Linked DNA regions of Homo sapiens: region 2 is linked to region 1. The links are contacts of gene promoters, found by promoter capture Hi-C in blood cells and fetal thymus (Javierre and others, 2016). All regions are on one chromosome and are shown on one strand. The core of a region is centred on a gene start or on the middle of the fragment in contact, and the rest is flanking DNA. Distances in the headings are between cores, read along the strand shown.

What was found. Contacts are between HindIII fragments. The CHiCAGO score rates a contact against its expected background, and 5 or more counts as called.
Region 2: a fragment that was not itself captured here is called in contact with the fragment with the promoter of HFM1 in region 1 in 2 of 17 cell types (megakaryocytes and erythroblasts); the score reaches 5.6 in megakaryocytes.

Annotation. Positions count from the first base shown.
Region 1 is chr1:91,401,255-91,408,633 of GRCh38, reverse strand. It overlaps HFM1 (helicase for meiosis 1), which reads left to right and starts at 3,797. Exons shown (of 39, transcript NM_001017975.6): 1 at 3,797-3,836. RefSeq lists a silencer at 3,823-4,202. The HindIII fragment of the contact is 14,376 bases long and covers 1-7,379 here.
Region 2 is chr1:91,278,366-91,285,744 of GRCh38, reverse strand. All of the region lies in intron 30 of HFM1 (helicase for meiosis 1), which reads left to right. Among named protein-coding and RNA genes, the nearest start is that of HFM1, 120 kb to the left of the region's middle. The HindIII fragment of the contact is 410 bases long and covers 2,553-2,962 here.

The DNA of each region.
Region 1 (7,379 bases), core at 2,548-5,047:
AAAAGAAAGAGAAAGAAAGAGGGAAAGAAAGGAAGGAAGGGGAAAAAAGAAGGGAGGGAGGGAGGGAAGGAAGGAAGGGGAGGAAGGGAGGAAGAGAGAAAAGAGAAAGAAAGAAAGAAAAGAGAAACAAAGAAAAAGAAAGAAAGAACAGAAAGATTTTTTTTTTTTGGTTTGTGCTTAATTCAGTCTTCCTTTTGTTATTTAAGTATCTACTGAATTGGCCCTAACTCCCTAAACTTTTCTTTCCTCCTGAGAATCCCATCATATCAAACTACCTTTATTTCCTTTTTTTCTGTTTTTTTCTCAGAAATTAATTTTGTAATTCTCAGATTCTTCCCAAATGATCTCTTCACTGTTTCTTGTCCAAATCTGACAATAAAAAACACAACACATTTCTGGCTGTCATCTGCAGAAAAATAGTCTTGAAACCTCAACATTTCTTGGTTCCTGCTTCTCTAGAGCCATCAACACTAATTTTTCTTTTTTCTTTCTTGCTTTTTTAGATACAGGATCTTGCTCTATTGCCCAGGTTGGAGTGCAGTAGTGGGATCACAGCTCACTGCAGCCTGGAATTCCTTGGTTCAAGCCATTCTCCTGCCTCAGCCTGCCAAGCAGCTAGGACTACAGGCACACACCACCACACCTGGTTAGTTTTTAAAATTTTGGTAGAGATGAAGTCTCGCTGTGTTGCCCAGCCTGAGACTAATTTTTCAATATCAATTTCTACTGACTAATCAGGGTGTAAAAGATGTGGATGTTACAAAGTGAAGAAAATTTTGGTTATGTTGGATACATCAGCTAGAACTCATGGCATTGGCTGTAATAGCATTACCATATGTCCCAGCAATTCCACTCCTAGGTACATATCCAAAGGAATTGAAAGCAGGGACTTGAACGGAGATATTTACACACGAATGTTCATAGAAGCATTATTCACAATAGCCAAAAGGTGGAAATGTGGAAACAACTCAAATGTCCCTTAGCCAGGATTACAAATGGATAAACAAAATGTGGTATATAAATACAATAGAATATTATTGAGCCTTAAAAAGGAGTAAAATTCTGATCCATGCTACAACATGGATGAACATTGAAAACATTATGCTAAGTGAATAATCCAGAAATAGAAGAACAAATATTGTATGATCCCACTTATATGAAGTACTTAGGATAGGTAAACTCATAGAAATAGAAAGTAGAATAGAGGTTACCAGGAATTAGGGAAAGGGGAAAAGAAGGAGTTCCTGTTTAATGGGCAGAAATTTCTTTTTTTTTTTCTTATACTTTAAGTTTTGGGGTACATGTGCACAACGTGCAGGTTTGTTACATAGATATACATGTGCCATGTCGGTTTGCTGCACCCATCAACTCGTCATTTACATTAAGTATTTCTCCCAATGCTATCCTTCCCCCAGCCCCTCACCCCCCAACGGGCCCCAGTGTGTGAAGTTCCCCTCCCTGAATGGGCACAAATTTCTTGTTGGGGATAATGAAAAAGTTTTGGGTATGGATAAGAGTGATGGTTATACAACACTATGAGTGTATTTAATGTCCCTGAATTATACACTTATATATGGTTAAAATTATAAATATTACGCATGTTTTACCACAATGAAAGAAAGAAAGCGCGCCTTCTAGTGGGAGCTGGGTGCAGAGAGAGCTCTGTATTCTTGGCTGCAGCTGTCTAGAATGGAGCCTGTCTTGCTAAGCTGGAACTTGGGAGTCTTGGATAAAATACCACAGAGCCTTGCCTTTCTTACCAAATTTTTGTATCTCTTTCTTGAAAAGATGTTTCTTCTTTTGCTGTTTGCCCTTAGGATCATTTCCAGAGGGTCTGAGTCATTTTTCTAGAATTTTCACCAGTTTCACTGAGAAGTGAGGTAGCAAAGCTCTTTATGCAGTCATGCCAGAAGTTGACCGGGAAGACTATATTTCAAATGTTAGTTATGTTATTCAATTTGGAGGATTGCTTATGACATTGTTGCACTGGTTGTAAAATTAAATCTTTAGGATTAAAATGTTTTCTTGAGAAATGTGGCAACATTACTAAAAACCATGGTAATCCCTCCCCCCAAAATGGGATTTTTAGTAACTTTATCACTGTCCTGAGGCTTCCTTTTAAAAACTGCAGCTTTGACATTTTTATTACATTATTTTAAGAGAAAGTAAGGCTCTATAGATTCCACATGCATTCTTGAATAAATGAGTGAGTGAATGAATGAATGTTTTTGTTTATGAACATGGTGGCCATTTGCTACTGTGTGCTTTGACAGTAAGACTCCCCTGTACCTGCCTGTTGCTGAATTCTACAATTCTATCACTCAAACCCTATCTTAGTTCAAGCTGCTATAACAAATTACCATAGGCTGGGTGGCTTAAACAACAAACATTTGTCACAATTTTGGTGCCTGAGAAGTCCAAGATCACAGTGCAGGCAGATCCGGTATTTGGCGAGGGCCTCCTTCCTGGCTTGCAGATACCGTCCTCCTGTATCCTCACATGGTAGGAAAAGAGCGAGCTAACTCTCTGGCCTCTTAAAAGGGCACAATCCTACTCATGAAGGCTCTACCCTTTTGAGTTAATTACCTCACAAAAGTCCCACGTTCAAATATCATCACATCGGGGGTTAGAATTCAATGTATGAATTTCAACACATTGAGGGGTTCACTATAACAAATGCACTGTTTCGTTATTTTCCTCTATGCAGTCTATGGAAAGTAACTTTCCTCTCCAGTATTTTTGAGAGGAATGATAATTCAACCTTTCTATTAAGAATAGTTTATGCAGTCAAAATGTTATTTTCTCCAAGAGACAAAGACTTGTTATTTTATCAGTATCCAAATAACTGGCTCACCCAATTACTGGAATAATTTTACATTTCAGAGAAGGTGAAAGAAATTAATATTCATGAGCATTTACTGTGTGGTAGGACTACTGCAAATATTATTTTATTTAACCCTTGCAGCAGTATCTAGGAGTTAGAGCTTATGAGTATCACTGAGGATGCAGAATTAAGACTTAAAGGTTGGGTCTTTTCCAAGGTCATATAGCTAATGAACAGTAGAACTGCAAGAAAAAAGAGAACAGGAATAGGGCAGTCAGACAGCAGTAGGTTGGCCCTAGATGTCACAGGTGGGGGTTTCCAAAGGAAAGATAAATGTCTCTGTAAGAAAAGCATCATTGATTCGTTGCTATTTTATCATCTACAAAACATTCCCTGCCAAATCTTCAGAGGACAATTCTAAAGAAACTTAAAAGGATAATTTATAGTTTGTTCATGTTTACAGCCTAAGAACACATTATTGCCCTGTTTTTATAAATTCATGTTGGCTAAACACATTTAAATATCATTGTGTTTTAGAATATTTATTTCTGAAATTTAACTTTATTTCTGAATCAAGTTCCCCAGTAATACCGACCTCATGAGTGCCACTGTGATATTTTATAAATAATATAGGTAAAACACTTTTTAGGTACGAAGAGACCGGAAGTCCCAGAGCTGAGGCCTGGCTAACTTTGATGAGAAAGGCAGGTTGGGGTATGTTTGTGGAGTGGTGGTTGTGGGGGTAGAGAAGCAGGTTAGCTTAGGGAAAGGGTACCATTTAGTAGACCCTTAGAACCCAGGATTAGGAGCTGTATTTAAAGAGAATAGACACAGTAAACTGCAAGAGATATATTCAAAACCAGTTATAAACTTTCGGAGAAAAAAAGGTAGGAAGGGAGAGGTTGGGGGCTTGGGCGATCCATTGCTTGGAGCTCGGCTTAGCCAGGCTTGGCGGTCCTCAGAGGGGCTGATAAATCGGCGCTCGACTGGCCTAGGAGCTGTCCGCAGGGAGGTGAGGAGAGGGGCCCGGACGCCCGCGGGGAAGGTGGGGACGGGGGCCCGACGCCCGCGGGGAAGTGGGGACCCAGCCGAGCCGTCCGGGCAGCGGTCGATCTCTAGAGCCGTCTGCCGGGCAGGCAGCGGACGGGCGCGGCGAGTTGTTGGTCACCAGGCGTCTCCAGGCCGCCGGCCCGCGCCAGCGCCTCAGCCGCATTTCCAGTCAGAAAGCGGTGAGGCCTGCGGCGCGCTCGGGCGCAGGGCGGGCCCAGCTCCCCGCGAGGTGGGACCGGCTGGGCGTCCGGCCCGCCCCTAAAGTCGGCTGATTGGTGTTCGGTTCCTGTGTCTTGTGTTCCGGTGTGTGGCGCCCCCTGAGCGAGCGCTGGGGGGGACGTACCCATCTGTCTGAGCCGCGGGTTTCACAGCGGTGGGAGGAAACGGGACCCGGGGGGTGGAGTGACGCGCCCCAGCGCCCCGTTCTTGTGCCACTCTCGGGGCCCTAAGGCCTCTGCCTTGGATTTAGGATATTCTCCTTAGGAAATCCACAGAGCTGTTATTTTGCTTTAGGTGCTGATTCGGTCCCCAGCCGGACCCTTCCAGCCAGCCCTGTTGGTGCCTGGGGAGAGGGGGTGAGATCTGGGGCTCCGACAATTGTATGGTCCTTTCCCAGGCCGAGCCTCGGAGTAATTTGTTCCCGTTGATTTTTCCTTCTTTGTCAGATTCTCTGCAGTTATTTGTGACGGTCGGTTATTCCCGTAAATGTTGGTCCCTACTTCTTCCTTAACTCACAAAAATTTCTAGCAAATCAATAATTTTTATCTGAGTTTCTGTACTTTTAAAATAAGGAGTATGTTTCTGAGTAAAAATTGTAAGAAGTAATAGGCCTGCAATTTTATACAATAAGTTTATACAATAATTGTATACAATAATTTTATACAATAAGTAAAGATTACAGAAGACAAAATGGTGAATTGTCATTAATATAACTAAAGATTAATTGTATCTAGTTGTATTAATATTTAACTAGAGATTGTCATTAATATAACTAGAGAAGGTCGGCACCGCAAATTATGTAGACTCAAAAATAGCTTAAGTATTTTAACAGTGATTATAGCAGAGCAGACACTTAAAACTACCTGGGATGATATTGTTTATTGTGTTTGGCAATCTAATTTTGTGCCACGTGCTGAAACTAAAACTTTAATAATAAATAATAGGAACTTAAAAAATCTGAATCTAAACCTAGAACTTTAATTAATTTAAAATAGCATCCCCTCACATCACAAACTCATACTGAACTGTAGCAAGGTCCCTTTTAGGACCTGTGTTTCTTTTTTAAAAAAAGATTTACATAATGAAAGTGCCAAATTCATCATCTTTTAGAACCTTCATGATTTTATTTACATAAATCCTGAACTAGAAAAAAATTTCACATTTTTTAACTGAACGTTGAAGATTGGGGCTCAAATTTTAAGTTTCTAAATTAACAGAAAATTATTTTTATTTGACACTATTTTTATAAACTGGTTCTTGCTAATGCATTTATTCCACAATGCATTCTTATGGACCATTTACTGTGTGCCAGGCACTATTCTGGGTTATTGGAACACATTAATGAGCAAAAAGTCCCTGCTTGCTCTAAAGGGAGAAACATAATAAACAACTAAGCATATACTATAATGTTAGTTATCAGTTCATGCTATGAAGAAAAATAATGCGGAATGAGAGGATGCAGTTTTAGATAAGGGGTGTTTTTTCACAGGAGTATATAAGAACTAAAATATGTACATGATATTTTTATTCTGAACCCAAACAAGTTATATTCTTGTATGCTAGAACTAGAAATCAAAAATTCTTTTGAAAATATTTGCTGTTTGTATAGGAGGTTTTTGTCAGTTTATGCAACGCTTTTCTTCCCAAATGTTTTAAATTTGTAGTTTTGTTGTCTATTTGTAGTTGCTTTAGGAAGAAAGTATTCAAGTGTATAAATGTTAGCCTTAAGATTTTTGACTTAAATTCTGAGGTAGCAAAGCCATATGAAACTGGTCTGGTGAGGTTTATTTTAGGAAAAGTTTCTTTTGTTTGAACATAGTTTTCCTAAAACTAGAAAGGGAACATTTTATTTGTTACTTTTTGGGCAATATAAAAACATGATTAACATTTTCATTTATACTTTTTCAGATAATTGTTTTCAAGTTCTGAAATTGTTTACTTAAAGCTGTTAAAGACTTCGCATATTTCTGAATGACTCCCTCTACCTCCTGCCCTATTATCCTAGGCTTCTATTTTTCGTATAGTCAAATTGTTTTAGACATTTATAGAACCACACTAGTTTGTTTCATTTTTACTACTTGTTTTTGTTGGTAACTGATTAATAGATAGAGAAAAATGAAGAGGGCAATTATATTAAACAGATGGAAGGGGGAAGAACCCAATAACGAAAACAGTGAAAAACCCCACAATATTCTATATCAGTAAGAACAGCCCTGAAGTATATATACAGGTTTAGTTCTCATACAGTAGCATTTGTCAAGTGTTGTATGTGGAAACATTCTCCCTTCCCCATATCACTCCCACTTGTATCTCATCCCCACATCAAGGAGGATTCAAAATTGGAGAGACATAATCTGACTTGGTAATGCGTATTTCTCCACTAGATGGCATTAATAGAATTTCTTTGATTGTAGTTTCTATCTTGAGGACAAATTTACAATGTATTAACTAAAACAGAAGAAACAGAAATGTGATTTATGTTTTACAGTTTGTTCGTCTGATTTTATGGTTTGTCATATAGAATGTTCTATGATGTTTAAGAATTTAGAAAAAAATAGGATATGCAGGGAAAAATAATTCTAATGGGAGCAATGTATGTATCTAGAGACTAGTTTTTTTTTTTAATCACATTTGCATCTTTGTTCAGCCCCAGATTTTTGTTATGTTCAAAGGTGGCCAATGCTGAATGTTTTTATCCTTTATGTTTAGATAATATCTCTGAGTGCAAAAATTATCTTTTAAAAAAGAATGTAAACGTGTGTAGTATATGCATTAACTCATATAAATAAATATGCATATGTATGTTAAACTTGTAATTTTTTTATTTTGAAAAAGTTCAAACCTATGAAAAAATATTATAATGAACCCCATGTACCTATTACATAGCTTTAGCTTTGATCAACTCATTGTCAATATTATTTCAATACTCCTTCATCTCTCCCCTTTATTTTGAAGCAAATCCCTGCATATGTACATAGTATATTGTTAGAGGTGCACACATTCACAATAAAATGTGCTGTCCTAACTTGAAAATAATGGTGTGAACAAAGTATTAAGAGCCCAAGAAGACTGATTAATTCTGCCTTGAGGAAGAAGACAAATTCAGAAAAGCCTTTGAAGAAGAAATGACATTTGACCTATAACTTGAAGGATGGTTAGGAATTTGCCAGTTGGAGAATGGCAGAAAACACATTCCAAGCATTGGAGCACTATGAAGAGAAGGGAGCAAGTGTGAATCCATGAATGAATGGAAAACAGAGAATAATGTATGTGAATATTGAGGTGC
Region 2 (7,379 bases), core at 1,508-4,007, 120 kb after region 1:
CGGACCAGAGTTGACCTTGGGTAACTGAAACTGTGGAAAGCAAAATCATGGATGAAGGGGGCTACTGTATGTAATCATCCAAATCTTAGGAACTTATGCACATCCGTATTGTACAATTCAATTTTTATATGCAAATTTATATATCCCTGGATAAAGATACACAATTATACCTCTAAACCTAACATACATACACTCTTTCTTAGTAACTGACACAATTAAGGGGCAATAGATTACCCTACTAAGGCTGTGACACCAAATTTGGGCCTTTTCAAAACAATCCAAATTTCAGTTGTTCTAATCCCTTGTCAAATGGTGTTATTAAATGATACAAACTGATATTTAGTTCAGAGAATATAATTGCTAAATGGCTATTTCCAAATATGCTTTCAAGTTGAACAAATGTTTCAATTTTGTATATCATCAAATTATAGGACTATATATAAAAACAAAAACATGCACCTTAGGGAATATAAAATAATGAAAAATTCTTTTCATGCTTTCTACAACTTATATTAGTCCGTTTTCATGCTGCTGATAAAGACATAACTGAGACTGGGTAATTTATAAAGAAAATGAGGTTCGATGGGCTCACAGTTCCACGTGGCTGGGGAGGCCTCACAATCATGGCAGAAAGTGAAAGGCACGTCTTACATGGTGGCAGACAAGAGAGAATGAGAGCCAGCCGAAAGGAGAGACCCCTTATAAAATCATCAAATCTTGTGAGACTTATTCACTACCACAAGAACAGTATGGGGGAAACTGCCCCCATGATTCAATTATCTCCCCCAGGTCTCTCCCACAACATGTGGAAATTATGGGAGCTGCAAATCAAGATGAGATTTGGGTGAGGACACAGCCAAACCATATCAAACTTTTTGAAAACATTCTTTTAGCTGCAGTTTCTCACATATGGTTATAGTTCCAAGAGATAAAATTCTTGTATAATTTGAGGAAGAACATTTTTGTTATTTTTAATATATGGCAATGTGAGACATATTTTTAAGTTGTAAAAACAAAAATTAAAAAATTTTCAGGCCTGCTCTCAGTATATGAAGATTAGGCATTTAAACTTCTTATCCTTTAAATGCATTCTAAATAAGAATTACAGGCTTTGCTTAATTTGAAGAAAATCTATTTGACATTAATACATTTATCTTCATTTGCAGTATTATTCTGAATATGAATGTCTTGGAGCTAGGTACAGTGGCTCACACCTGTAATCTCAACAATTTGGGAGGCCGAAGGCAGGCAGATCACCTGAGGTCAGGAATTCCAGACTAGCCTGGCCAATGTGGTGAAACCCCATCTCTACTAAAAATACAAAAATTAGCTGGGCATGGTGGCAGGCACCTGTAATCCCATGTAATACGAGCTACTCGGGAGGCTGAGGCAGGTGAATCACTTGAGCCTTGGGCGGAGGTTGCAGTGAGTTGAGATTGCACCACTGCACTCCAGCCTGGGCAACAAAGGCAAAACTCTATCTCAAAAAAAAAATAATAATAATATAATAATAATAATAATTAATGTAGTTGAATGAATACAAGGATAAAGCCAGTCCTCAGGCACATTGTGTGTACATTTAAATACTAGTTAAAAGGCAGTCTACTTTTCTTTATATTCTTTGGTGTGTATGTGCATTAAGTTGCAAAATCAAGGACTCCAGTTCAGTGTATTCCTTTTCTGCATAAATAAATAACAAAATGATAGTAAAATATTTGACAGAAAAATGAAAAGGAGACTCTCTCATCATTAAAAAAAGTAAAACCATGAATTGCATAAATCTATGATTAGCATAAATGGAGAACTGCAAAAGTGAAAGTAATACTAAAAAAATACTCCAGTAGCTTCTGCACAGACCAAATTATTTGAATTTATAATTAGAAAGTTATGCTAAGTGTGACAGAGATTCTTGCTATTTTTTATTTATTGTCTGGACTTCTTTTTTTAAAGAAGTGACCCTTGCCCCGCCACCTGTTAATGACTCTGTTAAAGTAATTTTAAGTATTTTCTTTCAATACATTTCTATTTGATATTATTAATAAATTTACTTTAAATGCTTGGAACTAGAGACTTTATAACATGTAAATTAATACAATATGTGGCAAAACTATGAAAATATTTGCACCTCAGATTATGACAGTGATGGAATATGGAATCTGCTATCTTTAGAGTATACTTAAGAGTGCAGCTTAGGCTGGGCACAGTGACTCACACCTGTAGTCTCAGCACTTTGGGAGGCCGAAGTGGGTGGATTGCTTGAACTTACAGGTTCGAGACCAGCCTGGGCAACATGGCTGGTCTTTACAAACCCTGTCTCTACAAAAAATACAAAAATTAGCTGGGTGTGGTGGTGCATGCCTGTAGTCCCAGCTACTGAGGGGGCTGAGTTGGGAGGATCACTTGAGCCTGGGAGGCTGAAGTTTCAGTGAGCCGTGATGGTGCCACTGCACTCCTGCCTAGGTGATAGAGCCAGACTTTTTCTCAGAAGAGTACAGCTTAGATTATTTTTTTTCTGAGAACCTTATCTTTCTAATTACCAATATCTGTAAGCTTATATTTGCTAATAAGATAAATTCAGACAATTCTCAGGAGGTAGGGAGGGCGGCAGGGTAAAGGGAGCACTTTTATTTTCAAAGTACCATTCGTAACAAAAATACAGCAAAAAGATTTCGTCAGGTAGTATCCATGTGCTAGTGTTCTATAAACAAACAAACAAAACTTGCATACAGTCCTCATTCCTGACAAGACTTGCCAACTTTGCCTTGAAATTTTTGGGAGCCCTCGGAATCTCTCTAATTAGAGTCCCAGATCCTAGTTGCTGCCACTGGGAGCAAATGTGCTTAGTCATTGTGCACCACCTTGTGGCAGCGTTTAGACATGCATCTTTTTTAGAAGTTCTTTAGTATTTAAGACCCAAAGGCAACTCTTTATTCTTCATTTTAAAACAGCAACTTGCAAAGCTTTTCTTCCAAGTCTTCCCACCTCAAAACAAAGGTTCCTTCTCTAAATAACTTAAATGAATCCTCTGGGAGAGCTAAAGCAACTGGTACAACTAGAGAGAGAATTGTTGATAGATCAGTCTCTGGAATTAGACTACCTTGAATTAGAATCTCAAATTTGCTACTTACTAACAGCATAGTCTTGAGCATCTTACTTAACCTCTGTAAGAATTAATTTTCTCATAGGTGAAATGGAGATATAATAGGAACCTTATAGGCAGACAACCAAGGGTGATGAGACATTTTAGGAAAATGTAGAATGTGTGAAAGTCCAAAATAAGGAAATAGAAAATGGATGAAAGAGCAACAGGATAATTCAGGAATGTAATAAAACCTAATATAAAACTTTAGTAACGTCCGAGAAATTAAAGATTAAATTGCAACCACAAAACTGAATAGGATGCCATTTTAAAATAAAAAGAACCAGAGCAAGCACAGAGAAGCAAAAATTATGTTTGGAAGGAAAACCGGAGGTCTCGAACATAAAGTCAATACCTTCTCAATGAAAGCAAAAAGTCAAGGAGACAGAAAATATAAGAGAAAAGGGGGGCAATTTAAGAACCCAGTATCTAACTTATAAGTGTTCAAGAAAGAACAAACAAATCAGAAGAAATAATTTGAGAAACGTTTTCAGAACTGAAGTGAGACAGAAATCTTCACATTAAAAAGTCTTACTTAATGCTAGTTAGGATGAATGAAAGGTCTACAAATAAAGCTAATTGCAATATTTCAGAACATTGTGGATAAAGACAAAATTGTAAATGCTTACGAGGCACAAAAATTTAAAAATGTAATAGTCTTTTAGTGAGCAATGTTGGATGCTAAAAGTCAATTGATTTAAAATTCCAGGGGGAAGCCAGGCACAGTGGTTTGTGCCTGTAATCTCAGCTACTTGGAAGAATGAGAAGGCAGGAGTGCGTGCGCCCAAGAGTTCGAGGCTGCGGTGAGCTGTGGTCTCACACCTGCACTCCAGCCTGGGTGACAGAGCGAGACCCTGTCTCCAAAACTGTAATAATAAAAAATAAAATTCCAAGGGAAAAATGATTTTCAACCTTATGTTCTATGCCCAGCCAAACTACTAAGTATGAAAGTAATATAAAGATGCCTTAATACATTCAAAGATTCAGAAAATTTTATTCTTATACATCCTTTCTTAGGCAGTTGCTCAAAATTGAGCACCAGTAAAACAAGAAAGAAAAAGCCCAAGAATCCATTTGTAGTAGATTCAGCCCAGGAACTTAATGAAAGGAAGTTCAAAGGTGACAGTTACAGGACAGGTCTAGATTGCATTAGGAGGCAGATAGAGGGTTCAAGGAAGGAGGCATTGATGAGGGGGGAATAAATGGGTGAGGTATTCCCATGTATTTGCTTTTACCCTTCAACTATTGAGTGAACTTAAAGAAACAAGATGGATATTGCTAGACAAAAAGGAAGGCTGCAAAACTTCAGGGGAAGCAATATGCTGCTCAAGAAAGAAAACCACTCCACTTGATTCTGCATTAAAAATATTTTTACCTTCTGTATATCTCTCAAATCAGTCTATTCTCTGTAACTCTACTACCACCACCACTCTGGAGTTACCATGATTTCTGCTTAGACTTGTACTGGTTTTCTTGCATCCTTTCTGTCTTATCTCAAATCTGTTCTCCATATTACACTCTATATGGTGACGTTTTTCACAATGCAGATCTGATTGTGCCCCCTCTTCGGTTAAAACATTTCAGTGGCTTCCCATAGCTCTTAGAATCTAAATCATTAGCATCCCCTAGAAGGTTCTATATGGTCACATGGTCAACCAGTCCCTAAGCAGCAATGTAGTGGTAGCTGCTATGTGGTCTTGCCTCACTTCTGTAGATTTGGCTGGTAAGGACACCCTAATGGATTTAAACAGTTTATTACTTACACAGATGGCAAAGCAAGATCAGCATGGTATTAGCTGCTTACATCCCCAATTCCACAGGATGATACCAAACTAGGGGGGTCAGATGACAGACAACATGAGTGGTGGGTTGCTTTGTTTTTGAGAAGTGAACTCTAGGCTTCAGCTAAGCAGTTTTATCTGAAAGGGGCAAAATGGAAAGTTCCATACCTTAGTGGAATCAGGGAGGCAGATGAGAAACTGCCGCATGGCAAGTCTTCTGCAAGATCGAGGGTCTTCTGCAAGGTATGGAGCAAATGTGAAATGGCCTTTGATAGCTCCTCACAAGACTACCTATCTTGCCATTTTTAAGGATGATCATGGGGCATTCTGCCAACAGTTGAGTCTTACCTACATGGCCTATATGGAGATATGCAATTGCCATGGTGCCATGGTGGAACTGTTCCCCTACAAACATAGGCTGCCTTTACTACCACTATAGTCTCATCTTACATACTTTCTCATATTTGCTAGCATCAGTCATATTGACCTTTCAGTTTCCCCAATGTGCCATGCTTTTCCTTGTCATAGAGCTTTAGCATATGCTATCCCCTCTGCCTGAACTCTAATTTCTCCTCCTTCTTTGCCTTCTTAACTTCCCTTCTTTCTTCAGTGCTCAGCCCAACGTTCCTGACCAGAACAGCTTCACCTGTTACCACATAGCATGATGTACCACTCCTTCACAGCATTCAGAACAATTTTAGTTTAAAATTTATTTGTTTAATCTTGGATTGATGTAATAGTAGAGATAGCGGATATAATATATACATTAATATATTTGTTTATCACTTAATTGTCAATTGTTTTTACATACTTAAATTACATTTTATTTTTACGTCTCTGTGAGGTAAACAGAACAGATATTAAATCTTTTTTCCCAAATAAGAGCCTATATTAGAGCTCATTTTTTTTCTATTTTAGTGTTCCCTGTACTTCACCACTATGTTTTTTCTGTAAATACATTCAATATAAGGCAGCATACAGTAAGCAAGAGGCACAGAGAAAATGCCACAGGGGCCCAAAGGAGAGGGAAATCAGATCAGGTGATCACCATAGACCTCCAACCCAGAGGTGCCATTTGAGTCAGACTTGAAGGTTGGTAGGCATCTGTTGGGCAAGGAAATGAGGGTCTTCTAAGACAAGAGATAGTATCAAAGCTACAGTTATAAAAAGGCATGGAACTATTTGAAGAATGGCAATTGAATGTGTTTTGATGGATGTAGGGCTAATATGGGTCCCAGGAAGGGAAGCTGGAATTGGATCATGCAGGACCTTGAAGATGGAATTGATTTTGCTGGCAGTAGGAAGTAACTCATGTTTCTAAGTGGGCAAATTGGTCTGATCAGCATTGGACTTTAAAAGTATTAAATAAGCAACAATGTGTAGAATAAATTGTATCATGGAGGACTGGATTCAAAGAAACCAGTTCTGATCTAAGTGAGAGGTAACAGGACCATGACTTGGGACAAAACACCTGAAACAATAAGTCGTGACACACTTTACAAAGTTTAAAGTCAAAGCCTTTCAGTCAGTGCCTAATAGGAACACACTTGGGTCTGAGGAACGTTAGGTTTATTTAACATACTGCAGCAAAGGAGAGCACCATAGCCACAGAACTGTGGGTCATCTCAAGGAGCCAGGAGGATTTTCTTATAGGATTTCAGAATCTTATTATAGGATTTCAGAATCTTATTATAGGATTTCAGCTTGTGCTGGGTGACTCTTAGGAAGGTTTAGGGAAAGCAGAGATCAGTTCTAGATTGGATGCTCTCAGGAAGTAAGATGTTGGATATTTTGGTACATTTTTTTTTTGGAAGTGAGAGGATTTAAAAAATAGTAGTCATCTGTGTTAGCCAGAAGAGGGGGATGTTTCATTATTTTTTATGTTTCTTGAGAGTTCTTTTCTCTAGTTTCAGAAACATTTACATGGTAGTCTTATCTCTGTCTTCTTCTACTATGGTCACAGAGTGGCCTTATCTGGGTATTTATATTCTCAAAATTGTTTGCTCAATTGGGAATACTGTGGTTAGCTGTCAGCTTCCAGCCGCCCAGGTGTTTTCTTTTTACCTTATCAGTACCCAATACATTGATCTGTTCAGCTCTAAGGACCAGCCGTTGCCTCATATGTTGAGCAGCCTCATCCATTTACCCTAGGCTGCAATATGTATATTATCACTGTCTAGACGTGCCATGACTTGGAAAGCTTGACTGAACAATGGTACCGAAAATGAAGAGTAAAGTACCAAGAAATGTTGTAAAGTTTTCAAGCTCTCCACTATCTCCAACATTTCTGGTTCACTTAAAATCTATGCTGCAGCAAAAATAAGCTGATTTCAGCTCTTACAATCGGTGATTTGCTGCTTTTGGGTATTTGCCCTCCACCTGGAATATCTTCCCTTTGTCTCATTCTCATGTTCGTATTTCCATCTGTCCTTCAAGGACCAGTTCAAACATCTCTCTCC